Regions from separate parts of the Homo sapiens genome. Here regions 2, 3, 4 and 5 are each linked to region 1. Evidence: promoter capture Hi-C in 16 types of primary human blood cells and fetal thymus (Javierre and others, 2016). All regions are on one chromosome and are shown on one strand. The core of a region is centred on a gene start or on the middle of the fragment in contact, and the rest is flanking DNA. Distances in the headings are between cores, read along the strand shown. Region 1 holds the start of LDHC (lactate dehydrogenase C). Region 2 overlaps PTPN5 (protein tyrosine phosphatase non-receptor type 5). Region 3 holds the start of IGSF22 (immunoglobulin superfamily member 22). Region 4 overlaps SAAL1 (serum amyloid A like 1). Region 5 has its middle 11 kb from the start of SAAL1.

Region 1 (6,107 bases), core at 2,172-4,671:
CCTGGGCAACAGAGCGAGACTCCATCTCAAAATAAATAAATAAATAAAAATAAACTATATGGCCCAATCACCTGAGGTCAGGAGTTCGAGACCAGCCTGGCCAACATGGCAAAACTACGTCTCTATTAAAAATACAAAAATTAGCCAGGCGTGGTGGCGCATGCCTGTAATCCCAGCTACACAGGAGACCGAGGCAGGAGAATCACTTGAAGCTGGGAGGTGGAGGTTGCAGTGAGCCAAGATCGCGCCACTGCACTCTAATCTGGGTGACAGAGTGAGACTCTCTCAAAAAACAAAAAAAATTGATCAACTAAATTAAATTATATGGCCCAATGGCATGGTGCTATTTTTAATTTTATATTTATTGACATCTGTTTGGTAAAATTTATTACTTTTTTAAAAAGCTTTGAAAATAACTTTATAAAACTAAAATTAACCTTTTCCAGAAGTAATCTTTGAAGTACTAAAGAAAAGACTGCCATGCTGAAGATCCATCATTTCTCCCTTCAGTTTGTCCAATGCAACATCAACAAGGGCAAGTTCATCAGCCAAATCCTAAAATATACAAAAGTTCTGAATAAAATGTTCCTACTTAAGTTTTAGGAGAATAAGAAGAATTTTCATGTGGCTACTTGATAATTAAAGGAATCTCATATTTTAATAGGGAAAAATGATATAAAAATAGTTTTTCAATGAGCCTGGGTGACCGAAAGTCAAGGTAAGTAAATATTAAGATGTAGCAAAAATTGTTTGACTTCATATAATTGTTAGAACTTTTTAGAGCTGGGTGTTTTTTGTTTTTGTTTTTTTTTGCCATTCAGATAACAGTTTGAAACCAAGGAAAATAAAATGATTTCAAAGGCTTTTATTATATTTAGCCTTTATTTTTGTGTTTTTTGTTTTGTTTTGTTTGAGATGAAGTCTCACTCTGTCGCCCAGGCTGGAGTGCAGTGGCACAATCTCGGGCACTGCAACCTCCGTCTCCCAGGTTCAAGCAATTTTCGTGCTTCAGCCTCCCGAGTAGCTGGGATTACAGGCGCCCGCCACCATGTCCGGCTAATTTTTGTATTTTTAGTACAGACGGGGTTTCACCATATTGGTCAGGCTGGTCTCAAACTCCTAACCTCAAGTGATCTACCCACCTCAGCCTCGCAAAGTCCTGGGATTACAGGCCTGAGCCACTGCGCCCGGCCAGGATTTTATTATATTTAACCTTAACCCTAATTTCTGAGTTGGCTAAAGCTGCTTTTAGTATGCGTCGTTATGGCCCAAACAGGAAGGTAACCACCTCTGATGAACACTTATTGTTTTCATCTGTCTAGTGTCCCTTTTTCTGGTAATAGAATTTCTCTTTTCCATGGGAACCCATTCCATATGTTTCAGTGCAGTACAATTAACATTGGTTTTCCAAGCTTAGGGTAGATGGGCATAAAACCAGACCTAGCCAATTGTTCCATCCTTTCCTTCTGGTCACAGAAATCAGTTCATAAGTGGACATATGGCCCAGGTATAAGAAACAAGCATGTCTATGAAGTTTGAAAATGGAAGACGGAAGATTACATCTCACTTTTCTTTGGAATCATAAGCTCTAAGAATAACATGCAAATCTAAGAACATTAGTAAGGACTGTAGAGTTGGAGAAAAAACAAGAATCTAAGAACAAACTGTACAGCCATCTTTACCACCACATAGAAAGGCTCTACGAATTAAGCCAACAGAGAAAATCTAAACCAAGATATACAAAGACTATGTCTTGATATGTGTGAACTTCAGAATCCGGTAGTACCTGAAGCAGTTTTGCCCTATTTCCAGTTACATGAACAATATTTCGTCTTTTTCTGCTTACCCTAATTTAAACTGGGTTTTTGTCACATGTGACAGAGTACGGAACTATATACAAGGAGTGTATTCATTCAGATTTCAATAGCCAGATTCCAAAAGCGAACAGTAAGGGAAAGAAGTAAAAGTCCCTACTTAAGGCCAGGCGTGGTGGCTCATGCCTGTAATCCCAGCACTTTGGGAGGCTGAGGCAGGCGGATCACGAGGTCAAGAAATCAAGGCCATCCTGGCCAACATGATGAAACCCCGTCTCTACTAAAAATATAAAAATTAGCTGGGCGTGGTGGCACATGCCTGTAGTCCCAGCTACTCAGGAGGCTGAGGCAGGAGAACTGCTTGAACCCGGGAGGCAAAGGTTGCCGGGAGCCGAGATCCTGCCGCTGCACTCCAGCCTGGCAACAGAGCGAGACTCCGTCTCAAAAAAAAAAAAAAAAAAAAAAGAGAGAACAATAAACACTGGGGACTCCAAAAGCAGAGAGGGAGGAGGGCACAAGGGTTAAAAACAATACCTATTGGCAGCCAGGTGTGGTGGCTCATGCCTGTAATCCCAGTACTCTGGGAGGCCGAGGCAGGCGGATCACTTGAGGTCAGGAGTTCGAAACCAGCCTGGCCAACATGGAGAAACCCCATCTCTACTAAAAATATAAAAAATTAGCCAGGCCTGGTGGTGCATGCCTGTGGCCCCAGTTATTCAAGAGGCTGAGGCAGGAGAATCGCTTGATCCCGGGAGGTGGAGGTTGCAGTGGGCCAAGATCGCGCCACTGCACTCCAACCTGGGTAACAGACAAATCCTGTCTCAAAAAAAGAAAAAGAAAAGGAAAGTCAGAAAAAAAAAGAAAGGAAAAGAAAGAAGAAGTTTAAAAAAAAAGGAAAAGAAAGAGAGAAAGAAAAAGGAAGGAAGGAAGGAAGGAAGGGAGGGAGGGAGGGAGGGAGGAAAGGTCAAAGGATACATAATTGCTTTCAAGGGATTAACCTTGCAACCCTGAATACATCGACATATACAACACTCTGAAGTGCTCACTTGATTTTCAGCCACAGGATGGGCTTCTCACTCACCTTCAGTAAGATACTAATAGCACAAGCCATGCCTACGGCACCAGTTCCAACAATAGTAATTTTACACTGGGAGTTTTCATCATCCTCAATTAGCTTCTCAATTAGCTGCTCCTTGACAGTTGACATTTGGAGAACCTGATAGGGATAATGCAATTTCATTGGATTAACCACACTGAACATCTAAGAAACTACCTCTTCAGTTTGCAGAATGTTGGAGCCGGGGATGGGGGGAAGCCAAAGAAAGAATTTCCTGGTCAAAGGATGCGGGGAGGGTAAAGCAAGGCCCAGTCTACCAGGCAATGGGAGGGCTGGGGCACCAGCGGGCTTTTGGATTTCTCCCTGCCCCCAGCCACCACTTTCACCCCAGCACCACACGCTCACAAATGCTTTGCTTGGCGCAATCAGTACAGATGACCCACAGGGACAAAGCACCACCTTTGAAGGAAGGCACAGAAGTGACACCAGAAAAATACACCAACGACAGTTGAGGCGCTAAGCCCGTCGACGGTTGCCCTCCGTGCGACTCGAGACACGCACGTTCCCCCGCTCGGCTCTTATGCGTCAGCACGCAAGCTCCGCCCCCCGCCGGCCCAGGCGCGGGCATGGGGCGTCTTTTCTGCCCTGGAGCGCAGTGTGGGTGGCGGCGGTCCAGATCACCGAAATGCTGATGGGAAGAATTCTAGACTGGCCCAAAGAGTGTGCAAGACGGGGATATCCATGCATTGTTTGCAGGATTTTAAAAAATTATTAACTTCTGTAACTTCAGGACTGAGTGCTGAAATAAAGTTAGAATTTCTCTTGAGAGAACAGAGGGTGGTAATGAAACGCAAAGACGCGAAGGATGCTTTCAATTTACAGCAAGAAATTGTTAATATTTATAACTCATGGCCGGACGCGGTGGCTCACACCTGTAATCCCAGCACTTTGGGAGTCCGAGGCAGGTGGATCACCTGAGGTCAGGAGTTTGAGAACAGCCTGGCCAACATGGCGAAACCCCGTCTCTACTAAAAATATAAAATTAGTCGGGCATGGTGGTGCATGCCTGTAGTCCCAGCTACTTGGGAGGCTGAGGCAGGAGAATCGCTTGAACCCAGGAGGCGGAGGTTGCAGTGAGCCAAGATCGCGCCACTGCACTCCAGACTGGGCAACAAGAGAGAAACTCCATCTCAAAAAAAATTTACATATATATTTTTTTTTTTGTGAGAGAGATATATATCTCACAGAAGGGGACACAACCTACTCCATCTTTTGTAGAGTATTTGCATTTGAACCTTTTTCAAAATCCAAAATATAATTTATTTTTCTTATAATAGCCTGTAGTGTTGTTATTGTTGTTGTTTTTGAGACAGAGTCTCACTCTGTCGCCCAGGCTGGAGTGCAGTGGCACAATCTCAGTTCACTGCAACCTCCGCCGCCTGGGTTCAAGCAATTCTCCTGCCTCAGCCTCCCAAGTAACTGGGACTACAGGCGTGCGCCACCACGCCCGGCTAATTTTTGTATTTTTAGTAGAGATGGGGTTTCACCATGTTGGTCAGAATGGTCTCCAACTCCTGACCTAGTGATCCGCCCTCCCAAAGTGTTGGGATTACAGGCGTGAGCCACCGTGCTGAGCCACCGTGCCCAGCCGCCGGGCAAATTTTTTTGTATTTTTTTGTATTTCACCTTGCTGGCCAGGCTGGTCTCGAACTCTTGACCTCAAGTGATCCACCCACCTCGGCCTCCCAAAGTGCTGGGATTACAGGCGTGAACCACCGCACCCAGTCAGTATTTGTTTTCAATATGGTTCAGATTATGCAATAACCCTGCTTTAAACTCTTCCGTGGCTTTCCATTACAGGTAGAGTAACCCACTTTTACCACAACCTAGATCTTCAAGATTTGGCCTCCTACCCCCACTTCCCATATCATCTCAGGACACTCAATACACTTCCTTCCAACTAGGCTTTGGACAGCTTTTTTGGATCAGGACTTTTTGCTGTTCTTTAAACCAAGAAAGCTCTTTCCCCAGCCCTTCTCAAGGTTAATTCCTCATTTTCAGCTTTGCACATACATACTCTGGCTTTCCTTGACAAATGTCAACTACCATCATTTCCTGTATATCTCTCTCTTATGGCACTTTTCTCAACCAGCAACTAGCCTGAAGCTAGAGGCCTCCTATAGCAGACAGGAGCAGCAACCACTTGGTCCTATACCTCCACAGCAACCTCATTTATCCCCGGGCTGAGAGGGAGATTGCTGGCCTGGATGGACTGGAAATTTAAGCTCTACACCTGCCTCAGGCCCCTGGCGGCCAAGGAAGGTATCAGCTTGGTAGTGGCCAAACTGATGCTAGATGACTAGAACTGGCTCTTCATCCATGCCTGCCCAAATACTCCAAACTTACTTAACATTTTGCTTACTTGATTGCAGTAACTTTAGAACCAAAATTTGTCTTTATTTATTCTTGTACATTGCAACATTTACCAAAGCATAGTAGGTACTCACTAAAGAATTTTTGGGCCAGACATGGTGGCTCACTCCTGCAATCCCAGCACTTTGGGAGGCCGAGGCTTCAGCCCAGGAGTTCAAGACCAGTCTGGCAACATAGGGAGACCCCCATCTCTACCCCCAAAAATAAAAACAAAATAAAATAAAATAATTTTTTTTGAGACAGAGTCTCGCAGTCTCGCCCAGGCTGTAGTACAGTGGTCCGATCTCGGCTCACTGCAAGCTCCGCCTCCCGGGTTCACGCCATTCTCCTGCCTCAGCCTCCCGAGTAGCTGGGACTACAGGCGCCCGCCACCATGCCCAGCTAATTTTTTGTATTTTTAGTAGAGATGGAGTTTCACTATGTTAGCCAGGATGTTTTCAATCTCCTGACCTTGTGATCCACCCGCCTCAGCCTCCCAAAGTGCTGGGATTACAGGCGTGAGCCACCGCACCTGGCCAAAATAAAAAAAAAATTTAAAGAATTTTTAAAGAACATGGCTTTGAAGTACTGAGTTTTATTTTGGCAACATGGGCTTTAGTGGGGGAAAAAAAGGAAGTAGAACCATGTTCTGAGCATCACATTTGCTTCTACACTAACTGGCAACTTCTGTGAGATGGGGATAAGGCCTGCTTAATTTAGTTCCCAAGGTTACTATGGAAAAAAAAAATCAAGTTTCTTTGCAGAGTTGGCCTATTCCTTGCCTGGGGCAGGAAGGTACAAACTGAACCTGGAACATTTATTTT
Region 2 (6,107 bases), core at 2,666-5,165, 350 kb before region 1:
CACACCTGCATGCCTTCCTCTTGCACACTCACCTCTCTCAGCTCCATCCCTCCATCCCGCGGCTTCCACTCTGCATGCTTCCTGGTGATGTGCTTGCTCTCTCATTCCCTCCTTAGGTGTCTTTCTCTTTCTCCCACTACTGTACCCCTTCTTCACGCACACTCTTGAAAATGACTAGGCAGACTCCTTTTCTCCCTCTCCATTCTCTGTCCTCTTCTCAGGCTCTCAGTCATGCCCAGCTCCCCGGTACTGTGGGGGCAGTGAGTGTCTACCCCACTGCCTTCCCCACCCCTGTGCACATGTGCACACATGTATTTTTCTTCTCCCTCATGCACACACCCTTTTTCATGTGGTCACCCTCCTCTTCTCTTTCACTCTTCCTTTCTTGCTCACTTCATTTGCTCACAGTCACCCAAACACTTTGGTACATTCAAACTCACAATCTCTCTTCTTCTATGTGTAGGTGTTCACATTTGCAAGACACCAGGTGGCACTGCTAATGTTGGGGACTCCACTCCTTCCCCCATCCAGCACCAGTACAGGCCTAGCCCAGCATAGTCCTAGCTCCCAGCAGCTGCCGCGGAGGTACAAGGTAGAAGAAGGAGGTAGATAAAGCAGCAGTAGGTGCCAGTGGGGGCCAGCACATGGAATAGAGCAACATCACCAGGTGTTGCTCTCAGCAGCATCATCATGCAGACTCGTGGGCAGGCCTGCAGGGACCAAGGTCAGACTGCCAATAAAGACCCTCGCAGTATACCACCCCTGCTCAGTCCTGCACTGCAAGGGCCATTGCTTGCGTGCATGCATGTGGGCAGGCCAGTCTGTATGTTCAAGCTTGGTCCACACTCCACCCTAATAGCTACTCCTTGGCCACCCCTCAAACCTGAAGATGCGTAAGCAGGAGACAGTGTCTACCCTCACAGGGATGTACCTGAGCAAGAGACCCATGCAGGCTTCAAGCCATTTGGGCAGGAAATCCTGAAGTCCTAGTAGTTAGAGTGTATCCTGGAAAGGGGAACATGGACACCAGCTGCTAACAGACTCTAGTTGAGTATATCTCCTGAGCCCTATGGACTTCTCTGCTCATGGGGAGTGCCATGGACAGAAGAGACGGGGCACAGGGCCCAGGTCTAAGGACAACGCTGCTCTTGGGAACAAAGTACTCCTGGAGCCTTCCTGCGGGCAGCTGGCTGGAGCCATGACAATCCCTACCAACCTGAGATTTCAGTGTGTCATGATTAGCTGGCTTTATGCAAGGTCATGAGTATGCTGAAGGCCTGAGTAGGCCATTGCACTTTTGGTAGGAACAACTGGCCTCTTGGGCTGGTGATTCTGAGACCTACTCTTCACCTTAGATCCTGATGTCTTGCAACCTGTCCCCAACCCAGCCCTAGGCACTCTGCTCTGTATCATTGTGGGTATTAAGTGGACCCTTCCTTCGGGCCAAGGACAAGGTCTAGGTCTCAGCAAGAGGCCACTGCCCATCCCGAGTGCCACTTTTTAAAGTAAAGGAGCTGGAGGCCTGAATCAAGGAAAGCTTTGTCACCCTAATCCTGCAGCGCCTATCTCTGACCAGCAGGAAAGAACAAGTCATAGCTTTCATAGCCTTCCTACCATGCCACAGATGAGGTCTTGGACCAGTAGCCAACAAGGGCAGTTGAAAAGGCAGCCTGATTCTTTTATCCACTCAATTTTATTGAGCACCTACTCCATGCTCCATGCTTGCCAGGCACTGGTGATACAGTGACAAGCAAGACAGACATGGTCCCTGCTCCTAAAGAGTTTAGGGTGCCATGGAAGGGTACAGCCATTTTGCAACCCTATCTTGGTGGGTCAGGGAAGGCTTCCTCTAAGAAGTGACCTAGAACATGAATAGGGTCTCGATTCATGTCTTCAGGAACCTGCTGTGTCAAGCATTTTAAGGAGCAGGTTTACCTCATAATGGGCCTCATCCCTGATCTGCTAGCCCCTGTTTTCACAAAGCTCCCCAGAGTGGTGCTTATATTGGTTTAAGCTGGTCTGTGGGCAGGTGCAGAAGCCCAAATGGACAAACCTCCAGAAGATGGACCTGGTTGTAGTAGTACTGCTGAGATGTCACCGGTAGCTGTCAACACTCAGTGGTAGAGGTTCTGTTGATTTTTATTTCTTTGTTGAATTGATGGTTCTGTTTTCATTCAAGACTTCAAATACATTTAGAGATATTTATTGTCATTGATGGTACGATGAGTTTTTTACTTGAGTCTTCAGAATGGATAATTAAAGTATAAACGAAACACCATTTGGATGTGCTAAGAACACTAACTGGGCAGTATTCTGTAACGATGCCATTGTGTTGAGAAAAGAAGTACCATCCCAGGTGCCCACTGGTCAGCAATAGTAGAGGCTAACTATTCTCAGACACCAGGATGGAGCCCATCTAGCTAGGCCTTGGGGTGCTATGGCCAGGCAGCTGGGTTCAAATCCCAGCTCTGCTATTGACCAACAGCATGACCTGTGGTAAATTATCTAACTGCTGTGAGTTCCAAATTCCTCACTCTAGAATAAGGGTAGTAATATGATGACATCTTCACAGAGATTTTGTGAGGATTAATTGAGTTCATGGACGTAAAGTGCTTATTACAGAGTGCTCTATAAATGATAGCTAATAGTGACGGTGATGGTTGTTCCAGGATATGGAATGTGAACAGAAAAAAAACCTTTTTTTCCTTTGTGTTTTTTCTTTCTTTGTGTTCCTGTGCCTGGGGCTCGGGCGTCAGGTCCAGGCCAGTTCTACAGCAGTGGAGTGGGGTAGTGTATCTGGTGGTCCTTTCTTGACTCCCCACCACAGGTCTGAGACCTCACTGAACCAGCACAGCCACAGGCAGGAGTGTTTTATGCTTACATATTTAAGGGGCCAGGGTTGGTGGGGAGAATGATCCTCCGTTTTCCTTCACCAGGATAGAAACAGTTCTCATATTCTAGGGAGTTGCCTGGATGTGTGATGACACTTAAAGAGAGTCTTTGCAACTGAAAGAAGGAATGCATCTGGTCCAGTCCCCTGCATCTTCAAAGGTTGATGCCAATGCCCTTTTAGACAAATGGACATCCATCGTACTCCTAACATATGCAGTGACAGATGCCATTACCTTTCTCTTTGGTCTGGCTCAGGGACAAATCACCCCAGCTCTCAGGAATTCTTTATATCTGAAGAAAAAAAAAAAAAACTCATCCTTCCATTGAAGCTCATTTCTTCATTTCAGATCTCAGCATCTGTTTTGGTTGTCTGTTGCTGCCTGACGATCTCAACACTTAGTGGCTTCAAACAACAACCATTTTATTTGCTCATGACTTGGAGGGTCATGCAGGGTTTAGCTGGGTGATTCTTCCATTCCATGTGGCATCAGCTGAGGTCACTCATTCAGCTGAACACACCTCATTCTGTGCTGGGATAGAATGTCGGAGAAAGCTTTTATTATATGTCTGGCACCTCAGTGCTCCTACCTTGGGCTTCCTCACAGCATGATGGTCTCATGGTAGTTGGACTTCTTATGTGATTACCAAGAAGGAGCACTCTAAGAGGGGCAAAAAAGAAGCTTCAGATCTCTTAAGGCCCAGCTCCAGAAGTTACACAATGTCACTCCACTACATTTTGTTGATCAAAGCCAGTCACAGGGTCAGCCTAGATCCAAGGGATGGGAAGTAAATGCCACCTCTTGATAGGAGGAGTGCAGAGAATCTGTGGCCATCCTTCATCCACCAGCACATCCTCTTTATAAGCTTTCACATTCCTCCTAACACTAGCTTCATCCTCTCCTAAAGCTTCCTCCCCTTGGCCTTCATCCCATGTCTCATTCTTTTCCCCAACCTTCCACTATTTGAGCTACTGACCCTTTGTTGCTTAAATCTTCGGCTCTTTTGCTCTTCTCTTTTCTTTGGCTCTCCTCCCTGCTACTTCAAAGAGCACAGCTGTGTGCAGTCCCACCCCTAACATTTGTAAGGCTGTATATGTTATGTCTAGATAGCTAACTGTTCGAAAGCAAGCTGATAAGCTTTGAAAGGAAATATGTTGTCCTTCCACTCTGACGAATATTCATTTGTAGGGAGTTTAAAAGCCAGGTTCAAATAGAGAATTCTGAGTTCTGCACCAAAATATGGGGTCTAGGGAAAGCCAGTCTCCAGTCCACCCCTGCTCTGTCCAGCACCACAAGGACACTCATGAGCACTTGGGTAGATGGGTACCCCAGCCCACACATCTGAGCTCCAAACACACCTTCTGCAAACAGTCACCTTAGCCAGTTCTAGGAATACACACAGCACAGTGTACTCTCATGAAGCAGTCAAAAAAGAGGGCCACCAGGTCCAGGAATCAGGCTGAGGAGCATTTGACCAGGGAATCTGGGGTTTTGAATATGTGGCCTTACAGGGAGAATGTCCCTTTGGTTCCCTGGACTCCTTACCTGTGAGGAGGAGCATACCTGATGGAGGATTGGAGCAGGGCCCTTCAAAGTGTGAGATCAGGATGAGGGACATTTTCCTGGGTGTAAAGACAGTGCTGAGTGTGTCTGCCCTTGTATTGGGCATTGCCTTTCACTGATGGGCTTGGACAAACCCTGCACTGCTCCATCCCTCCCATGAGGCATTTCCACTGTGAAATGAGAAAAGCAATTTTTTTCATGGTAGTTATAAGAATTCAGTGAGACAATGGATGGGAATGGGGATTTGTAAACCATAAAGTCTTATTCACAGCTCATTTTTTTATGGTTTCTTATTGTCGGATTCAGAAGCCCTGGATGTGAATGAATTTGGACTCCGCCCTTTTTGAGCTTGGATCTTGCATGAATCACTTTACATCTCTAAACTTTGGAATTTCACACACACACATATGAAAATGATGTGTGGGACAGGTGGGGATGTTTATTAGGACCTTGGTGCTGTTTCTTTTTGTTTTGTTTTTGTTTTTTGGTTTTTTTTTTTTTTTGATGGAGTCTTGCTCTGTCACTCAGGCTGGAGTGCAGTGGCACGATCTTGGCTCACTGCAGCCTCCACCTCCCGGGTTTAAGCAATTCTCCTGCCTCAGCCTCCCGAGTAGCTGGGATTACAGGCATACGCCACCAAACCCGGCTAATTTTTTTTTTATTTTTAGTAGAGACGGGGTTTCACCGTGTTAGCCGGGGTGGTCTCGATCTCCTGACCTCATGATCCGCCCGCCTCGGCCTCCCAAAGTGCTGGGATTACAGGCGTGAGCCACCGCGCCCGGCCGGTGCTGTTTCTTTTTAATTCCAAGTGGTTAAAACCTGAAGGATGGGCTGGGTGCAGTGGCTCAGCCTATAATCCCAGCATTTTGGGAGGCTGAGACGGGTGGGTCACATGAGGTCAGGAGTTCAAGACCAGCCTGGCCAACATGGTAAAACCCTGTCTCTACTGAAAATACAAAAACTAGCCAGGCATGATGGCTTGTGCCTGTAATCCCAGCTACTCAGGAGGCTAAGGCACAAGAATCACTTGAACCCGGGAAGCAGAGGTTACAGTGAGCAGAGATCATGCCACTGCACTCCAGCTTGGGTGACGGAGTGAGAATCTGTCTCAAAAAAAAAAAAAAAAAAAAGTGAAGGATGTAAGGGACCAAGAAGAGTTATCAGCAAAGAGGGAACTAGGCTGTCTGAACCAGACATAAGCCAGATGTCAGCTGGGGTAATGTTGCCTTTTAAAATACAGATGAGAAGCCTGCCCAGAATTTCCCATTGCACACCATTTTCCTAAACAAGACAAGGCTTTGCATACAGCATCCTTCTTCTGAGGACCAGTCACTAGCCTACCCCATCTCAGCCCTATTTGGGCTGTGCCTGACGTGACTATTAGATATTGAAAAAGATCATCTTTTTTTTTTTTTTTTTTTTATTTAGAGTCTCACTCTGTCGCCCAGGCTGGAGTGCAGTGGCACGATCTCGGCTCACTGCAACCTCCACCTCCCGGGTTCAAGCAATTCTCCTGCCTCAGCCTTCCAAGTAACTGGGATTACAGGCACATGCTACCATGCCTGGCTAGTTTTTGTATTTTTAGTAGAGACAGGGTTTCACCATGTTGGCCAGGCTGGTCTCGAACTCCTGACCTTGTGATCTGCCCGCCTC
Region 3 (6,107 bases), core at 1,561-4,060, 310 kb before region 1:
CCAGTTTGTGCACCACGTCATGAGCCTCTACGAAAAGCAGCTGTCCCACCAGTCCCCAGAATGACTGCGCTTCTCCTACAAGGTTCTCTGGGCACTGCCCAGCCTGAGTCTCGGCCCTCACCCAGGGCCCTGCCTCGGGTCCTGGGCCTGCTCCCCGCTTCCTCCCCTTCAGTCAGCTCCCTCTGTCCTCTGTCAGCCTGGCCTGACCCCTACCCTCCAGCATTGCTCTTCCTACTGTACATATTGGGGAGTGGGGGGCAGGGTCGGGAAGGGACATGCCAGGCCAGGCCTGGGGCCCCGGGGCCTGACCCACACCACGCAGACCCCGGGCTCCAGTTTTTAACGATGGTTCCATCAATACCTGATCCAGAATGTTTCCGTGCTACACTTTGTGTCCTGCTGCAATGTGTTCTGTCTGTCCATCCATCTCTGCCCTCTGTACCGGACACTGTGTCTCCTCAGCCAGGAAGGGGTAATGAGCTCCAGCCCCTAAGCAACCGGACTTGCCTGCCTCGGCCTCACCCGCACTTCTCCCAAAAGGCAGATGACGGGGAGTTAGGCATGGGGAGCTCCAGAAGGTCACCAGAGAGCTTTCAGCTGAGGGAGAGTTCTCTAGGTTGGAGTGGGCATCACAGCCAGGGTGGCCTCTGGGTGTCAGATGCTCTCAGGAGGGTGCCCAGCCTGTGAGGCACTGGCAAGGTAGGGGGCAGATGGGGCATGGAGAACCCAGAGGATCTAGGCCCTGTTGGGGAGGGGAGGGGAGCTCAAGGTTTGGGTGGGGACTCAGCCCAGATCTACGTGAGACATTTTTCTGTGTCACTGTGGGAAAGCCTTCCCAGAAGTCTCACTGCGTGTTGCTCTGCGTGTGTTCCCATGTCCATGCGTGTGTTGAGAGCCCATCAGGAGGGCATGCATGACTCTTTGGCAACATGTATTATCTTGGAGCCACGTGTTTTTATTGCTGACTTTAAATATTTATCCCACGGCAGACAGAGACATTTGGTGTCTTTTTATAATTCGCTCGTGGTCATTGAATAGAGCAATAAACGGAGCATTTTGAGCAAAACTAACCTCCTGGGTCTGTGTGATTTGCCTCTCCCCTCCACTGCCTTCCTTCCTGTACTTGGGTCTTTGTGCCCCTCCCCAGCATGAGCACAGTGAGCTTGGCCCTTCTGCTCACTGGAGCCCCTTGTGGAGACTGGGAGTATGGAGCGAGTCCAAATTTGTAAAGCCAAACTGGGAACATTCTGCAGGATTCTCACACAGCCTCAGCCCTGGCCCTGACACATGCTCTGGGCCATGGGGAGCCTCAAGGACAGGTGTGGAAGGCTTCCAGGGAAGGCACAGTGGCTGGCAGGTCACCATTTCCAACAGATGTGCCAGAGAAGCCAAGGCTAGGGTAAGGAGACATTCAGGTCACACCCAGGCCCCTCCCTGTTGGCCAAACTCTTATCCCATGTTAGCTCCACAGATCCCAACAGCAGCTGCAGCCCAGTAATTTCCCTTGTAAGGCCTGGGCTCAGAGTAGCTCCTCCCAAGGGGCCCAGGGAATCTGCATGTGGGCTGAGATCCTGAGCCATCCTGGACACTCCTGCTCTATTCTTGTCCCCTGCCCCCCTGGGATGGAGCAAAAGTAGCCATGATGCCACTGCTGGCAGGTGGGGGTCACCCCAGGGCAGAAGGAGGGGTCCAGGGCAAGGGTGCTGACCAACAAGTCCTTACAAGGTGCCAGAACCTTGGGTGGGATCCAGGGTCCAGGCATGCGGGGTGTGCTACAGATGATGAGAAAACAACAGGGTGGGCTGGACACGGTGGCTCACGCCTGTAATCCCAGCACATTGGGAGGCCGAGGGGTGGCAGATCATGAGGTCAGGAGTTCGAGACCAGCCTGACCAACATGGTGAAACCCCATCTCTACTAAAAATACAAAAATTAGCCGGGCGTAGCGGTGCACGCCTGTAATCCCAGATACTCAGGAGGCTGAGGCAGGAGAATCGCTTGAACCTGGGAGGCAGAGGTTGCAGTGAGCCAAGATCGTGCCACTGCATCCAGTCTGGGTGACAGAGACTCCATCTCAAAAAAAAGAAAAGAAAAGAAAACAACAGGTGGCTGAAGCAGCCCAGATGGAAGTCCTTGAGAAGAGGTGGCCATACTCTCCAGTCACCCTCAAGCAGAGACCTCCCCACAACCCCCGGAGGATGGGCCCTCCTACTCTTCTACCCAGATTAGGGAGATTGGGCTGTTGAAGTGGGAAGAGGAAGGAGACCTAACATTTCCCTGTTCTTCCCCAGGGTGGCCTTGTAAAGATACTCAGGCTGTGTATGAACCACACATAGGAGTGCAACATGAATGGGAACCCCTGGATTTGTGTAGCAACGCAGCAGATCCCAGAGGCCCTCCCCAGTTCACCGTGTCCCAGTCCCTGGAAAATACAGACCTGTTGCTTTGCTCCCTGAGCCCTGCTGGACTATGCATGCACCTGTACCTGAGTGTGTGCCTGTGCACACACACTACCCTGAGCCCCTCAGCTCAGAGAGGTCCTACCCAGCAGCAGTGAGAGCCAAAACCTGTACCACAAGGGAACAAAAAAAGTACCCCTGGACTGCCACCCTCAGCCTCCTTCCCGCCTGGCCTTCAGTGTTTCCCCCAGCCTGGATCCAGCTTTGCTTCCCGCCTCCCTTCTCCACCGCCCTCCCCCTCCCCCCACAACCAAGCAGTGTGCCATCTAGCTGAGACAGCTGCAGAGCCTGACTAAGGAATCGCCCCCAGGGGGCCAGACATTTAAGGAACAGATGACACTGGTAGCCTCACTGTTGGGGCAAAGGAAGAAGGAGACGGGCCACCCTACAGTCCAGGCACTAGCTGAGCCTCCAAAGCCGTGGACACAGCATTCGAGTGTTGGGAGGGACTGGTCAGTGCTGAAGGTAAGGCTCCCCTCCTCCCTCAGGAAGGGGACAAAGCTGACCACCTTCTGAGCCCAGAGGGGACTATAGGGTAGAGGGCAGGAATAGGAACAGGGGAGTAGTCTCAGAACCCAAAGGTAGAAGCAGCCCAGGCAGAGATATATTAGGGGGTGGAGAGAGGGAATAGAGTTTAACCCCTAACTACCTGGGTTAAAGAAGGCTTTGGAGCCCTCTGGGACGCCACTGGACTGGAGTCAAAAGCTAGGAGTCTAGTCTGAGTGACCTTGGACAGGTCATTTCTTTCAGACATCAGTTTCCTCATATACGAAATAGGACTTTAAAAACTGCAATGCTGGGCCAGGCGCGGTGGCTCACGCCTGTAATCCTAGCACTTTGGGAGGCTGAGGTGGGCGGATCACGAGGTCAGGTATTCGAGACTAGCCTGGCCAACATAGTGAAACGCCATCTGTACTAAAAATACAAAAAATTAGCCGGGTGTGATGGCGGGTGCCTGTAGTCCCAGCTACTCGGGAGCCTGAGGCAGGAGAATTGCTTGAACCTGGGAGGCAGAGGTTGTCGTGGGCCAAGATCGTGCCACTGCACTCCAGCCTGGGCAACAGAGCAAGACTCTGTCTCAAAAAAACAAAAACAAAAAAACTGCAATGCTGGCCACATGCAGTGGCTCACACCTATAATCCCAGCACTTTGGGAGGCCAAGGCAGGCGGATCAATCGAGGCTAGGAGTTTGAGACCAGCCTGGCCAACAAGATGAAACCCTGTCTCTACTGAAAACACAAAAATTAGCTGGGCATGGTGGCACGTGCCTGTAAACCCAGCTGCTGGGGAGGCTGAGGCAGGAGAATGGCTTGAATTCGAGAGGAGGAGGTTGCAATGAGCCGAGATCACCCAAAAAAAACCGCAATGCTGGTTAAATAAAACATTGAGAAAACATGGTGCTCTGAACAGGAATGAGGAAACGCTATCATCTGGTATGGAAAAAATCTCCAAGACACATTAAATGAAAAAAGAAAGGGTCAGAATAGTGTGTATAATGGGCTACCTTATGTGCTTTTTTAATTAAAAAAAAAAAAGGAAGATGATAAGAACACATGAGTTTTCCTATTTGCATGATGGAGGTCTAGAAGGAGCCTAGAGACTGGCTACCTGTTGCAATGGGGAAGGTTGTAAGATAGACGCAGGAGTGGGAGGGAGCCTGTCCATATGGATTTTTATATTGTTTTATTCTTTAACTATGTGATTGAATTACCAGTTCAAAGAAAAATGTAAGAAAAACTAAACCTTTGCCTTTACCATGTCGCAAACACAAGCAGAATTGTAGTGATGTTTTGTCATCTGTTTTAGCATTCCACCAGTGCCGGGGTCCCCAGGGCCCAGGAATAAGAGACACAGCTTCCTTCTAAAGCCCACTCCAGTATGGCTTAGTCAGGAAGTTCTTTCTTAGGTCTGACTGCATTCCCTCCTGATGAAACATCCAGCACTGCCTCCTTAGTGCCATGTAGCTATCAATAGGTATCCTCAACTCCCTCCAGGCCTTACTTGGTTGGCTGGGTAAGTCTAAGCCCTATAACCTCTCCCTCTGAGACCCTGGAATAGTTTGGAGTTACTCAGTGAGAGGACAGGCCTATTGGGTCTGGTAACTAACCAGGAAAAGGAAGCTAGGAAATGAAGAAAAGAGAGCTCGACTGCTCTCCTGGCCCTCTCCTGTGTGCTTCCATCTCCTCTTATGTCTGAACACACACATAACATCTCTGAATCTCCCTCCTACTCCCTGTCTTGTCCTTCATGGCCTCATCCTCTTCCCCAGTCTCACAGGTGAGTGCCCACGCCTGCTGTCACCATGACAACCATTCACAGCCGGCAGATGCTGCAGGAGCACGTGTCCATGGAGTTCTCCAGCTCCACCACCCACGTGCAGACCTTCTCCCAGACAACCAAGATCGTGGGAGGCAAGTGGAATGGGGGCAGGGAAGGGATCGGGAAGGGCAGCTATTCTTCCTCCACACCCATCCCTTGGGTGGCCCCAGTTTTGCCACTAATGGGCCCCTCTGGAGCCCACAATACCAACAGCAACCCCCACCCAACGTGTGCTTCTAATCTTGGCTTTGTTAAAGCTTCAGCCAGCTGGATGTTCAACACAGATCAGATCTCCAGGAAAACAGCTTAGAAAAGATCAATCATGTGGATGTGTGTGAATGATTGATAAACTCTTAATTGCTGAAGGAGATCAGAGCCATAGGTGAACAGATTCTATCTCCAAAGGTAGAATTTCAGGCATAGGGGAAATTAGGAAGGTAGCCACCTTATCTACATATCAGTAATGCTGACCCTGCTCCACTTAAGAAATAGGAGACTTGGGGCTACCAGTGGAGAAAGAAGGTGAACACATAAACAAGAAGGTGACCTTACCTTCCAGGCTTTTAGCCCTCTGGGGCCAGACTTGGAAGAGGGCAGATCCAAGGGAAAGCTGAGAAATGGTCTCAGAGCTGAACAGAGTGTTTTAGTCACGTCTCTAGTGGAAAGAGATTAAAAGATGGCCGGGGGCCAAGACATTGGATACCCCTTCTCACAGTCATTGCCCCTCCCTCAAAGCCTCAAAGGGATAGAGTCCCTCAAAGTCCTCCGTGCACAGAGGTCAAGGCCAGATAAACACTCTATACCAACCAACACCTCCTGGCCAGTGAGGCAGAGCAAGTGGAACAGCTGGGACTCAAGGCCTATGGTCTAGACCAGAAGTTCCAAACTCAAGTGATTTACAGCAGTGATTCTCTGCTGTGGCCGCACATCAGAGTCACCTTAGTGCAGGGGGTGTGAGGAGGGCAAAAATATGGCAGTACCTGAGTCTCACCCCAGACCATTCAATCAGGTATTTCTTATAAAGTTCTCCATGGATTATATATGTGCAGCCAAAGCTGTAGACCACTGACCAACAGGGCCCAGGCAGGGAACATAAATGTGGGGAAAAGACTGGGGTAAACTAGAGACTGTATATCCCATCTAAAGGGGCAGCCACTATTCACCTCCCACTGACTGTTGCCATATGGGAATACAGGTTCAGTGTTGAGAATCCAGAAATCTGAATTTTTATGTGAAATCTTTCTCTTTCAGATGTAGGGCTACTTTTTTGTTTAAACATTGTGGAGGTCACATAAAAGACATCTGCAGGCCAGGTGTCCACTGCACTCT
Region 4 (6,107 bases), core at 204-2,703, 320 kb after region 1:
TATTTTATTTTTGAGACAGGGTCTCACTATGTCTCCAGGGCTTGGAGTGCAGTGGCGTGATCACGGCTCACTGCAGTCTTGACCTCCTGGGCTCAAGGGACCCTCCCACCTCAGCCTCCCAAGTAACTGGGAGTATAGGTGTAAGCCACCACACCCAGCTAATTTTTATTTTTATTTTGTGGAGACAAAGGTCTCCTTATGTTGCCCAGGCTGGTCTTGAACTCCTGGCCTCAAGTGATCCTCCCACCTTGGCCTCCCAAAGTGCTGGGATTATAAGCGTGAGCTAAATGCCTGTAATAATTTAAAATATTAAATTATTAATAATTTAATAATTTAAAATTATGAAAATCATAGAATTTTAGATTCAGGCCGGACCAGGGAAATTAGCACTTTCATTTACCAGCTGTGGAGACGAGTTAGGCATAACCACTGTTATGCTGCTAGTATGTATCAGAACAAGGAACAGAGCCTGGGCCTCCCATTTTTCAGTTGATTTCTCTTTTTTACTGACAAAATCCACCATTGCTTGAAAACCATTCTAAACTCAGCCTGCTGCTTAAGACCTCTACTCTCTGAACCTAACTCATCTTTCCAGCATAAAATCTGGATAGCCAGGTAACCCTTCTGATTTAGCCAGACCTTTCTACTCCCTGTCTCATGCTGTCTCCGTGCCTCCCTTTGTGTGCCTTCTGTCCCCTCTCAGTATTTGCATCTGTTAATTCACAGTGGTACTTTTCCTTCCACACCTTCCCAAGTAAGTAAGTAAGCTTTCAGTAGTCATTGCTGTTAGTAAACTGCCAAGAACAATAGATAAAGACTAAAGGAGAGGCCTTTATATACTGTGCAGTGTACTGTGCTTTATTGCCAATTAAATTGCCATGTGCTATGCATATCATGGATTAGTAAATATCTGTTCAATAATTATAATTATGAAAAACTGCTGTTTACTGAATACCTGGTCTTACTACTATGAGGTATACTTTCAAAGAACTAAATCTTGGGTGAAGATATGTGTTCAGGGTCACACAGCTAGGAAAGAATGGAGCTGAGATTTCAGCCTAGGCCTGACTTCAGTATAACCACTGTACTGTATTTCCTCTCTTTCAGATTATAAAATGGAGAATTCCATAGTGTATTTTTACAAATTGAATGTTGAATTAGAATTCTTATTTAAGTAGAATGTTCTCTCTGAATTAGGGCCTGATTAACCGTTTTTTCCTTGATTCCTTATATTAATATAAGATTTGATGATTATGCTATTTTTATACTGAGTTTTTCTGTCTTAAATATATTTACTCACTACTAGTATATAAAGAAATAAGCTTATGTCAGGAATGGCACCTTTTAGGAATTAGTCATATTGTTGTATTATATCCGCTGGCCACCGTCTGCTGCCACAGTGATTCTCAGCCTTGGCTGCATGTTAGAATCACCTGGGACAGGGACTCTCAAACTTAAGCATGTCCCCGCATCACTAATTGCCGAGCCTCCCTCCAGAGTTTCTAGTCCAGTAGGTCCAGGATTCCTAATATGTTCCCAGGTGATGCTGGTGCTCTGGTGCATTGCCACACTCTGAGAAGCTTTACCCTAGGGAACTTTTGAAAATCTTGGTCAGGCCATACCCTAGATGAGTTAAAGCAGAATCTCCAAGTGTGAGACTCTGGGCAGCTTTTAAAGTTCCCCAGGTGATTCCAGTGAACAGCCAAGAAAAACTTGATCTTTGATTGGAAGTTCAGTTATTCCCTCTTTAGTTTATAAGGGAAATGTATGTGGTTTTTTTCTGCCCCTACTCACTCTTAATCTTTTCCCAACATTTGACCACCCACTTTTTATTGAAATTCCATTTCTATAGCTCCTGTGTCACCTCACTGTCGTCTCTGACCTCTTCAGTCACTCGTCTCTCACCTTTCATTGGCTTTTTTCTTTCTTCCTTTTTTATACTGTCCCGAATATGGACTTTTTCTAAGGTGTAGGCCCTGATCCTTTGTTCTCATTATATTCATTTTCCTAGTGAACTTATGTGTTCTTTACACCTTTAAGTTGCAACTCTGCCTGTAGGAGCAAAGCCTCGACTTCCCTTCTGATAACTGATGTCACATCTCCAACTTTGTTCAGGCATTCTCTGCTTGCACGCTCTACAGTTGTCCCTTGGTATACATGGGGGATGGTTGCAAGACATTCCCCCATACTGAAATCCACACATACTCAATTTAGCAGTCAGCTCTGTGGAACCTGTGTGTATGAAAAGTCAGCTCTGCATATTGTGCAGGTTTTGCATCTTGAGGACACTGTATTTTCAGTCCAAGTTTGGTTAGAAAAAATCCACCTATGAGTGGACCCACACATTCAAACCTGTGTTCAAGGGTCAGCTGTACTCTCTAACCCTGAATTCTGTATGTCCTCAGTGATTTATGGTCACACTTATCTAATCATAAAAGTCACCTGGTATATGCTGGGTAAACAATAGCTTTCCAGGCTCTACCCTGGAAATTATGATTCAGTAGATCTGAGATGAGATTTGGAAATCTGTATTTTTAACAAGCTCCCTGAGTGATTCTTATGTTCCAGCAAGGTTGGAAACACTGTACCATCTGAACTCATTGTAGCCTTTTATGCACTTTCTTTTTTAGTTTTCCTGTCAACGGGACCAATATCACTGATGGGGAAATGAGGCAACTTGAAAGCTAGGAGTCAAGTTCAACTGCTTTCTCCTTTATCCTCACACTGGATTATTTTGCTTTCACCTTGAGAGTCTTCCTCAGCTTCATCCTTTTCCATGCCTGAGGGCCCTCCTCCTCTTGCATCTTGATAACTGAGGTGCAGTTTGGAATAGTGGTTAAATGCTCAAGCTCTGGAGCTCTGCCGTGTTCTAGTTGGAGATCTTAAGATCTTAGGCAAGTAGCTTAACTTCTCTGTGCCTTAGTTTCCTCATCTGAAAAAATGGGGATACTATTAGTACCTATCACCTAAGTTATTATATGAAATTATACACAGAAAATGCTTAGAGTAATGCCTGGCCACCGTGAGTGGTAATAAACTGTTATTACATATTAATTAACTATTACTGAGATAGATTCTTAAGTTCTTTTCAACTTCTTTTCCCTATACACTAGTCTCCCCTTATCCTTGGGGGTTGCATTCCAAGGCCCCCAATGCCTAAAACCGAGGATAGTACTGAACCCTATTTATAATATGCACAAATTTCCTTTTCCTTCTTCACAGTTTCATGGATAGATTTGTTCTTAGAGATCCTAAGCAACCTCAGCATACATTTTTGTTTGTTTTTCTTATGAAGTCAAGAACTTTTACCTTTTCATGTAAAGAAAGCACTTAATGGCGGCTCCTTGGCATATCCAAATTGCCAGCATCACTACTCTTGTGCTTTGGGGTCATTATTAAGTAAAATAAGGGTGACATGAACACAAGCCCTGTGAGATATCCCGATGGTCGATCTGATAGCCAAGATGGCTACTAAGTAACTAATGGGCAGGCAGCACATACAGTGTGGATATGTTGAACAAAAGAATGATTCACATCCTGGGTGAGACGGTGCAAGATTTCATCGTGCTGCTCAGAAAGGCATGCAATTTAAAACATGAATTGTTTATTTCTAGAATTTTCTATTTAGTACTTTTATACCAAGGTTGACCATGGGTAACTGAAACCATGGATAAAGAGGGACTACACTAATACATTATGCATTTCGCCACCAGAGTAATCTTCCTAAGATACTGTTTCAGTATGTTGTCTCCCCTCCTTGAGCATCTTCATGATTCCAAATAACTTCCCAGATTAAGTCTAATTCTTCAGCACGGCATTCAGAGCCCTTAATCTCAGTCCTTTATACCTGCAGTATTTACCTCATGCTGTTCACCCACTTTGTGCCACAACCAGAGTACTTTATTGTCTACAGTATTCGCCATGTACATGATTCCCTTCCTGCCTTTGCTGATACTTTCCCCTTATTTGAATGTCTGTCTTTTTGTTTGCATATCTCATTCCTATCAATCATTTAAAACTCATTTTATCGATAGAAGTTCTTCTCGCATAGCTCCTGCCTTTGCCCTTTCTTGTTCTTACGTTTTTCATCCCTTCTCAAATACTGTAAGCTTGTCAAGGTTAGGGTACAGGCAGTATATGTATTTCTTTATCCTGCCTCCCCTCCGCCTTGCCCCAAAACTTGGCTCAGCGAAAGTTTTTGTTCAAGTTGATATTTTTGTTTACGTCTTTCGTCTCAGAGCCATTGTGACTTGTAAAATTTGATTTGGCAGGAAATCTGTGTGGGAATTTTAGGTAATATGGCCTGTTTCCAGGAGATATGTGTGTCCATCAGCAGTGATAAAAATCTTGGGTAAGTCTTACTATATAATTATGTTTTTTAATATATTCATTTATATCCTTAAGGAAATTCTAATACATAGGAAAAGTAGCAAATCTGAAAGACAGTCCTTTCTTTGTCTTGATGAACACTCTGTGGGAACTTCATTGTGTGTTGATGATAGCTAGGGGCTTCTTCAGGAGATACTGAAATGATTCAGGATTTAAGCCTGTTTTCTTCAGTAGCAAAGGAACCTGAATTGTCAGCTGGTGGCAATAAGCCAGATAGGGGAAGAACCAGTGGGCCAAAACTTGGAGATGGGGCAGCCAACTGGAATCCAAAACAGTTTAGGGGCAGGGAATCCAATGACTCAGCTGGAGTCTACAGAAACTAGATTTGTTGAATAATGTCATCCTGAGAGCTCTGACTTAGAGTGTAAGACTTGCCAACAACTGGAAGATAAAGGGTTGCCTCTCTGATGAAAAGACTTTCAGATATCTGCTTCGAGGCTCGTTCTCTTCTCCATGTGTAAAGTTCTGGGCAGAAGGTGTTTTAATGGAGGAAACCCCAGTGGTTACTGTGTTCGGAGAACACCCCGAAATTATATGCTGAATTTTGTGAGTGTATTAGTTTTCTAGGCAAAGGGTTCATGGCTTTTAATCAGAATCTCAAAGAAATTTGTACCCAAAATAGGTTAAGAAAACTGTTCTAGGCAGTTTTTGTCAGAGCTGGGGCCATGAGGGTTTTATCACAGGATTCAAGTACCTGGGTTTCTCAGAAAGAGAGAACTCCTAGTTGTGGAGGGACTTTAAGATCCTAGTTCAGAGTATTTATTCCTCAGTAATTTACCATCATCCATGGAACAAATGACTTAAGATTATGTTTGGTCTCTAATGTTCTCTATCAAAAATCCAAAAATGAGAAATGTTAACAAATGTTATAAATTCAGTTAAATGCTTGTCTTAATATTAGTGTGGTGCAATTTATATTGCTGATGGGATATAAATTTGTTGAACCACTTTAGTTGGGCATTATCTGGTCACGTTGGAACATATGCATGTGCTGTGACCAGCTCATAGTGGGCATATATGGTAAGAGAAACTGTGCACGTGTGCATCAGGATAACTCTTAACAAATATTGTAGGAGGATTGCTTGAAATAGCCCCAAATTGGAATCAACAGAAATGTCCATCAACAGTAGTCTGGAAAAATAAATTGTGTTATTTTCACACAATGGAGTGCTCTGCAGCAGTCTGTCAAAGAATAACAGCTAAAGAAACAACATGGGTAGATCTTACATGTATAATTTTCAGCAAATAAATGAAGACTCAATAAGTATAATTTATTTCATATGTTGTCTCCCCTCCTTGACTGTCTTCATGAATCCAAATAACCTCCCAGATTATGTCTATTTATTCAGCATGTCCTCTTAATCCTTTTACCTGCAGTATAAAGCAACACCAAAATATATAAAATAATAAAACTATAGTGCAAAGTAAGGAAATGATTGCTGGAAAAATCAGAATGGTCATCATTTCTAGGTGGGAAAGAGAATTGTGATTTGGAATGGACACATGGTGACTACAAAGATGCAGCTCTGTTCTGTTTCTTGGAAACACGAGTGTTTGCTTTATAATTATTTATTAACTATAGATTTGTATCTTTTGAGCTTTTCTGAATATATGCTGTATTTCACAATAAAGATGTTCAAAAAATTAAATGAAAACTCTGATATTTTAAATGCGAGAAGTGAGGCATATCGGTTAACTTCTTTGTTTTTGTAGGCAGG
Region 5 (6,107 bases), core at 1,837-4,336, 300 kb after region 1:
GATTTTTCTTTCAAGTCTTTCACCCAGACTTCAAAGATGATTTTATGTCCTATTGTTACAGGACAGGGCTCAGGATCCAGACCCCCAAGAGAGGGTTCTTGGATCTTGCACAAGAAAGAATTCAGGGCGAGTCCACAGTGCAAAGTAAAAGCACATTTATTAAGAAAGTAAAGTGACAAAAGGACAGCTACTCCATAGACAGAGTAGAACGTTCCTGAAAGTCAGAAAAGGAACGTGTCCACCCTAGGCACAATTGCTTGTATACATGGGGAGATGTGTTCTGCTACAAGGGTTTGTGATAACAGATTTCTTCTTTTCTTTTTCTTTTTCTTTTCTTTCTTTCTTTCTTTTTTTTTTTTTTTTGAGACAAAGTCTTGCTTTGTTGCCTAGGCTGTAGTGAAGTGGCACAATCTCAGCTCGCTGCAACCTCTGCCCACCAAGTTCAAGCGATTCTCCTGCCTCAGCCTCCCAAGTAGCTGGGATTACAGGTGCCCACCACCACGCACAGCTAATTTTTGTATTTTTAGTAAAGACAGGGTTTTGCCATGTTGGGCAGGTTGGTCTTGAATTCCTGACCTCAGGTGATCCACCGCCTTGGCCTCCCGAAGTGCTGGGATTACAGGCGTGAGCCCCCGCACCCAGCCCTGTTTTCTTAATTACTATATTTTGCAAGAATCAATATTATTATCTTTTTTTTTTTTTTTGAGATGGAGTCTCACTCTGTCACCCACGCTGGAGTGCAGTGGCACAATCACGGCTCACTGCAACCTCCACCTCCTGGATTCAAGCAATTCTCCTGCTTCAGCCTCCCAAGTAGCTCGGACTACAAGCGCGTGCCACCACACTCAGCTAATTTTGCTTTTTGTATTTTTAGTAGAGATGGGGTTTCACCATTTTGCCCAGGCTGCTCTCGAACTCCTGACCTCGTGATCCACCCACCTGGGCCTTCAAAATTGCTGGGATTACAGGCGTGAGCCACCGCGCCCGGCCAATGTTATTATCTTCAAAGAAAAATTAGGAATGTCTTTGTTCTCCAAATATTGGGATATTTGCACACTCCCAAGTCTGGGTCTGTTTAGTAAACATTACGAATTTGTTCCCTTAACTGTAAACATCTAGAGGTTAGGAATGCCTAACTTTCTGAGCACGCAGCCTAGCAATCTCAGCCTCATTTTCCTAGCCCTCATGCCAAATAGAGTCGCTCTGGTTCAAACGTCTCTGACACTATGTGAAAATAAACCTTGGTCCTTATAACTGTAGTTCTAATTGGTAATCTTACTTACTAATGTCTTAATAATAGGTTGCCTTGGTAACAATATTGTAATTAATATTTCTGTCTCCTGGAAAATATAAATTATTATGCGTTTTCTTGGTTAAGGTGGAAGCTCTAAAATTAATTAAATGCTTTACACGTGCCCAGAATTAACCCAAGTCCCTGTCAGCATTAATCATTTAATCCTCACAACAACCCTACAAGGGAGTTGTATTTTTCTGCATCCTTCCTATATCTACTATTCTGGTAACTAGGATTCATTAAATGTGAATTTTTTGAGGGTAGTGATTTTGTATCATTATTTTCTTCATTTTATATTTAGGGAATATAAAGTTCTTCCCGCTGGTCTTCTAAGACTGGGGCTTAGGTCTGAGATGTCATTCTTAGTCATGATACCTGTGGACTTTTGGGCTTTTCTGATTTTTGTTTTTCTAATTCCTAATAGAATTAAGCCTTAGTATTCTCCTCTTCTACTTAAATTAATTGTAACTTAAAAGAATGGAGGTGTCTTGGGCCTCTCAATCAGCCTGGTCACACAAGGTTATCAGAGTAGTGCTACCATCTGATTTACTGTTCAATCCAGGCCATTGTAGACAATGAAAAGATGTGCCACTATTAAGCTTGGACAATAGACACTGATCTCATGCAAACCAGCACACGTAGTCACTTGTAAGAGACTGTTGGAAAATCCCTTTAAGGCCTGGGGACTCTGATATCATGACAGGAAATCTTTCTTTTTCAGGAGAAACAAGTGAAAAGAACTGACTGCCGTTATTGTCTATTATTCTCAGCTTGGCACCATAAGAAACTGCGTGTACCTTCCCGGAAGGCAGAATACATTAAGTAACAAAGGAAGAAAACAGGCAAGGCTTGTCAAAGTCCCTGTGAGGAGTTCCTCTTGGTATCTAGAAATCATACTCGCTTTCTTGCTCTTTTTCCTGTGAGTCAGTGTGTCACTTTGTCACCCAGGCTAGAGTGCAGTGGTGTGATTATGGCTCACCATAGCCTCCAACTCCTGGGCTCAAGCAGTCCTCCTGCCTCAGCCTCCTGAGTAGCTGGGACCACAGGTGCATACTACCACACCCCGCTAATTTAAAAAATATATATACAGATATATAGTGGAGATGGGGTCTTGCTATGTTTCCCAGGTTGGTCTTGAGTTCCTGGCCTCGAGTGATCCTTCTGCCTCAGCCTCCCAAAGTGCTGGTATTATAAGCATGAGCCAGTGTCTCCACGCCACTTGCTTTCTAATACTTCTGTATTAGTCCGTTCTCATACTGCCATAAAGAAATGACTGAAACTGGGTACTTTATAAAGAAAAGAGGTTATATTGGTTCATGGTTCTTTAGTCTGTACAGGAAGCATAGTGGCTTCTGCTTCTGGGGAAGCCTCAGGAAACTTTCAATATGGCAAAGGCAGAGCGGGAGTGAGGCATCTCATATGGTGGGAGCAAGGACAAAAGAGAGTGAGGGGGGAGGTACTGCACACTTTTAAATAACCAGATCTCAAAAGAATTCACTCACTATCACGACGACAGTACCAAGGGGGATGCTGTTAAACCTTTCATGAGAAACAGCCTTCCTGATTCAATCACCGCCCTCTAGGCTCCACTCCCAACATTGGGAATTACAATTGAACATGAAATTTGGGTGGGGACACAGATCCAAACCATATCAACTTCTATCAAAGAAGAGAATGACTTGAATAAAACGAGAAAGTAGATTTCCAGCATTGAATGGTTCCAAAGGGAGTAAAATAATTGTGACAGGATGTGATCATTGGCCCTCAATTTCTGCCTGAAGAAGAGTAGGAAAAAGGAGGTCTGGACATCACATGCCCTGCTTTATGAAGCAGCTCCTCCAAGTACACCATGACCAGTGGCTGTGGATGGTTGACAACTCCCCTCCTCTTCCCCCTCTTCTACTGTCTACTCCTGGGACCAAGTGAGCCACGCCAGCTCAGATACTACACTGACCACAGGGAATCCCACCTTTTCCAAGGAATGGAAGTTGTGTAGGGAATATTCAAATGTTGCTTAGCATTGCCTTAGATAAGAACCAAAGGGACAGGGAAATCCTCTGACAGCTATCTGCCTTATAACTTTCATTTTACTGTGCCTAAAATATGCTCAGAACCCAGAAAGAGGCATAATTCCTAATTTTGGCAGGCTCTAATCTAAAATAATGATTCTCAAACATGGTGTGACTTTTGTCTATTTGCTTTATCCTGGGTCACTGCTCCTCTTCTGTCAGATACTGGGATTCCAATGAGACAAATGGAAATGGAGACGTAGACCCTCTGACCTTCTATCTTTTATCTATACACATACACCTGTGTGTGTGTGTGTGTGTGTGTGTGTGCGTGTGTAAAACCGAGTGGGTTTTTTTCTTGGAATGAAAGAATGGACTAACATTACAAAAAATAAAAACTTGAAACAGAATGTGTATTATCCTTGGTTGTGTTTCCTTGGCCCTGCAGCAGGATGAAGCTCTCCACTGGCATCATTTTCTGCTCCCTGGTCCTGGGTGTCAGCAGCCAAGGATGGTTAACATTCCTCAAGGCAGCTGGCCAAGGTGAGGTCCACAGGATAGGGGGCAGGAGGCTGCTTCTGGCTGCCCCCAGGATGCAGCTGAGCAGAGGCCACATCCCCACTGGGCAAAGGTGCTAGTGATGCCACAGATGGATAGAGAAGGGGCATGGTTTTTCATAAGCGTGGTTCCTCATGCTTTTCTGGACAGCTTTGACACTCTTCTATGAGGATCCTCCAGCCGAGGTCGCATAAGGTGTGAGCTGCCTCTTTTCAGCAGGACCATGAGAGAGATGTGGAGTTGAGGGGTGCATGTTCCCATAATACCGGTGGGGCTCTACTGCCCCCTAGTGGGAAATCTGGGACAGTTCATGTCTATGTCTCCTGGGAAGCCAGGAAGCAGGTGGATCAAAAGTGTGAGGCGAGTCCATGGGGAAGCTGAACGGAGCCAACCGTCCCCATAAAAACAACCAAGCTTAGCTGAGATTTTAATACGTACTAGGCACTGTTTAAATGTACTAATGAATTGGTTTCCATCATTTAGTCCTATGATGCAAGCAGCATTATCCCTTAACAGAGAAGCTAACACACACACACACACACACACACTAACACACACACACACACACACACACACACAAACCCCAAGATACGTAAAGAAGTTCCAAAGCAGAGCAGGATTAACCCAGGCAGTCTTGCTCTGCAGAACTTGCTCTTAATCAAGGTACTCTGCTGCTTTCAAAACAAGAGTTTCGGATTTGTGAACACATAGCTCATCCTTTATCTAAGAAATGGCAAATAGGATGTGGTGCCTTTGGAAGGTAAGTCTAGCTCCACTTATCCCAGTAAAACCTACAGTGAATTACCTTGATGGTGGTTCTACTGGGGCTTATATATGGCCAGGAAACTGCTAGCAAGAGAAATATACCCCGAGGGCTGGGCACAGTGGCTCACACCTGTAATCCCAGCACTTTGGGAGGCTGAGGTGGGCAGATCACCTGAGGTCAAGAGTTCGAGACCAGCCTGGCCAACATGGCGAAATCCTGTCTCTACTAAAAATACAGAAATTAGCCGGGTGTGGTGGCATGCGCCTATAATCCCAGCCTCTCGGGAGGCTGAGGGAGAAGAATTGCTTGAACTCAGGAGGCAGAGGTTGCAGTGAGCTGTGATCACACCACTGCACTCCAGCCTAGGAGACAGAGCAAGACTCCATCTAGAGAGACAGAGAGAGAGAGAGAGGGAGAAATATACCCCACTAGCCATAATAAAGTGGCAAAATTTTGTTTTCAGAATGCAGTATTTTAAATTTCAGGTATTATTATTTTTCTGAGTCTCTGAAAAATGGTTTTAAGGATTTGCTTTTAATCCTATTTACATGTTCACACACTCAACTACAAATATCTTTCATTCCTTAGGTTAATATTTTTCAAAGGGTTGTTCTGGGACCACTTGCGTGAGAATCACCTGGATTCTGGGATGCTTTGTGAAATGAAATGAAGATTCCCGGGTCCATACCCTACCCCCTGCCCCCAGCAGCCACAGTCTCTTGGGACAGAGCCTAGAAATCTTGCCTTTGCTAAGCACCTCGGTAGATTTTTATGCACAGCAAAGGTTGAGAACCACTACCTCTTGTTTTGCTGCTGAAAGTGATAAAATGTGCCAGGAATTTTGGAAGTACTTATTAAGCCAATCTGAACATCAAGGAGCCATTTAAGTCAGTAACTCAGAGGAATAAGTAGAGTAAAAATGTCATAAACTCTCAATAAAAGCAATCAATTTAACACCAGGAGTAATAAATGCATAAAATGAAGATGAGTTATCTAATAGAGAAATTATATAAACCATGATTATAACTCTATATTTGAGTTCCCCCTTTTCCGTAATCAGTTAATTTTCTAAAAAATCTTCGTCACTTAATTCTAGCTTGATCAGATCCCTTCAGTCCGTAACTCCCTGCTCCTCATCTTAGTTTAGCCCTTCTTTTTTCTTATGCCACCTTTCCTAAGGACCAGAGAAGTGAAATGATAATATATTGGCCACCTACAATGTTCTAGACATCATACATGTATTTTCTCTGCTCTTCTGCATAATCACTGTGAGGCAGGCAATACTCCTCCATTTCATTGGGGAGGACATTGAGGTTCTGAACTAGTGGGTCAGTTGTCCTTTTTCTGAATTTGATTACCCAGTAGTATAAAGCTTTCTTAGGTAACTCACCTTTATCACTTGCTGACTGAATTCTGACAGATGTCAGTTTCTAATTATAGCCTGGACATTCAGATGTATTCAGGACCAAGTTGTCCTCAC

The links. Contacts are between HindIII fragments. The CHiCAGO score rates a contact against its expected background, and 5 or more counts as called.
Region 2: a fragment that was not itself captured here is called in contact with the fragment with the promoter of LDHC in region 1 in 4 of 17 cell types (activated CD4 T cells, naive CD8 T cells, non-activated CD4 T cells and 1 more); the score reaches 6.5 in activated CD4 T cells.
Region 3: the fragment with the promoter of IGSF22 here is called in contact with the fragment with the promoter of LDHC in region 1 in 11 of 17 cell types (total CD4 T cells, naive CD4 T cells, non-activated CD4 T cells and 8 more); the score reaches 14.1 in total CD4 T cells.
Region 4: a fragment that was not itself captured here is called in contact with the fragment with the promoter of LDHC in region 1 in 1 of 17 cell types (total B cells); the score reaches 5.4 in total B cells.
Region 5: a fragment that was not itself captured here is called in contact with the fragment with the promoter of LDHC in region 1 in 1 of 17 cell types (naive B cells); the score reaches 5.4 in naive B cells.

Annotation. Positions count from the first base shown.
Region 1 is chr11:18,409,632-18,415,738 of GRCh38, reverse strand. LDHC (lactate dehydrogenase C) reads right to left here and starts at 3,421. Exons shown (of 8, transcript NM_017448.5): 1 at 3,331-3,421; 2 at 2,896-3,030; 3 at 438-555. The coding sequence starts at 3,021. The HindIII fragment of the contact is 7,298 bases long and covers 1,415-6,107 here.
Region 2 is chr11:18,755,772-18,761,878 of GRCh38, reverse strand. All of the region lies in intron 3 of PTPN5 (protein tyrosine phosphatase non-receptor type 5), which reads left to right. Among named protein-coding and RNA genes, the nearest start is that of IGSF22, 33 kb to the right of the region's middle. RefSeq lists an enhancer at 1-370. The HindIII fragment of the contact is 230 bases long and covers 3,801-4,030 here.
Region 3 is chr11:18,722,891-18,728,997 of GRCh38, reverse strand. It overlaps IGSF22 (immunoglobulin superfamily member 22), which reads left to right and starts at 2,810. Exons shown (of 23, transcript NM_173588.4): 1 at 2,810-2,924; 2 at 4,729-4,870. The coding sequence starts at 4,762. All of the region lies in intron 2 of IGSF22-AS1 (IGSF22 antisense RNA 1), which reads right to left. It overlaps PTPN5 (protein tyrosine phosphatase non-receptor type 5), which reads left to right. Exons shown (of 15, transcript NM_006906.2): 15 at 1-1,070. The coding sequence ends at 64. The HindIII fragment of the contact is 7,417 bases long and covers 1-5,037 here.
Region 4 is chr11:18,090,489-18,096,595 of GRCh38, reverse strand. SAAL1 (serum amyloid A like 1) reads left to right here. Exons shown (of 12, transcript NM_138421.3): 4 at 4,272-4,351; 5 at 6,103-6,107. Among named protein-coding and RNA genes, the nearest start is that of SAAL1, 13 kb to the left of the region's middle. The HindIII fragment of the contact is 258 bases long and covers 1,325-1,582 here.
Region 5 is chr11:18,113,725-18,119,831 of GRCh38, reverse strand. It overlaps the pseudogene SAA3P. Among named protein-coding and RNA genes, the nearest start is that of SAAL1, 11 kb to the right of the region's middle. The HindIII fragment of the contact is 2,382 bases long and covers 1,896-4,277 here.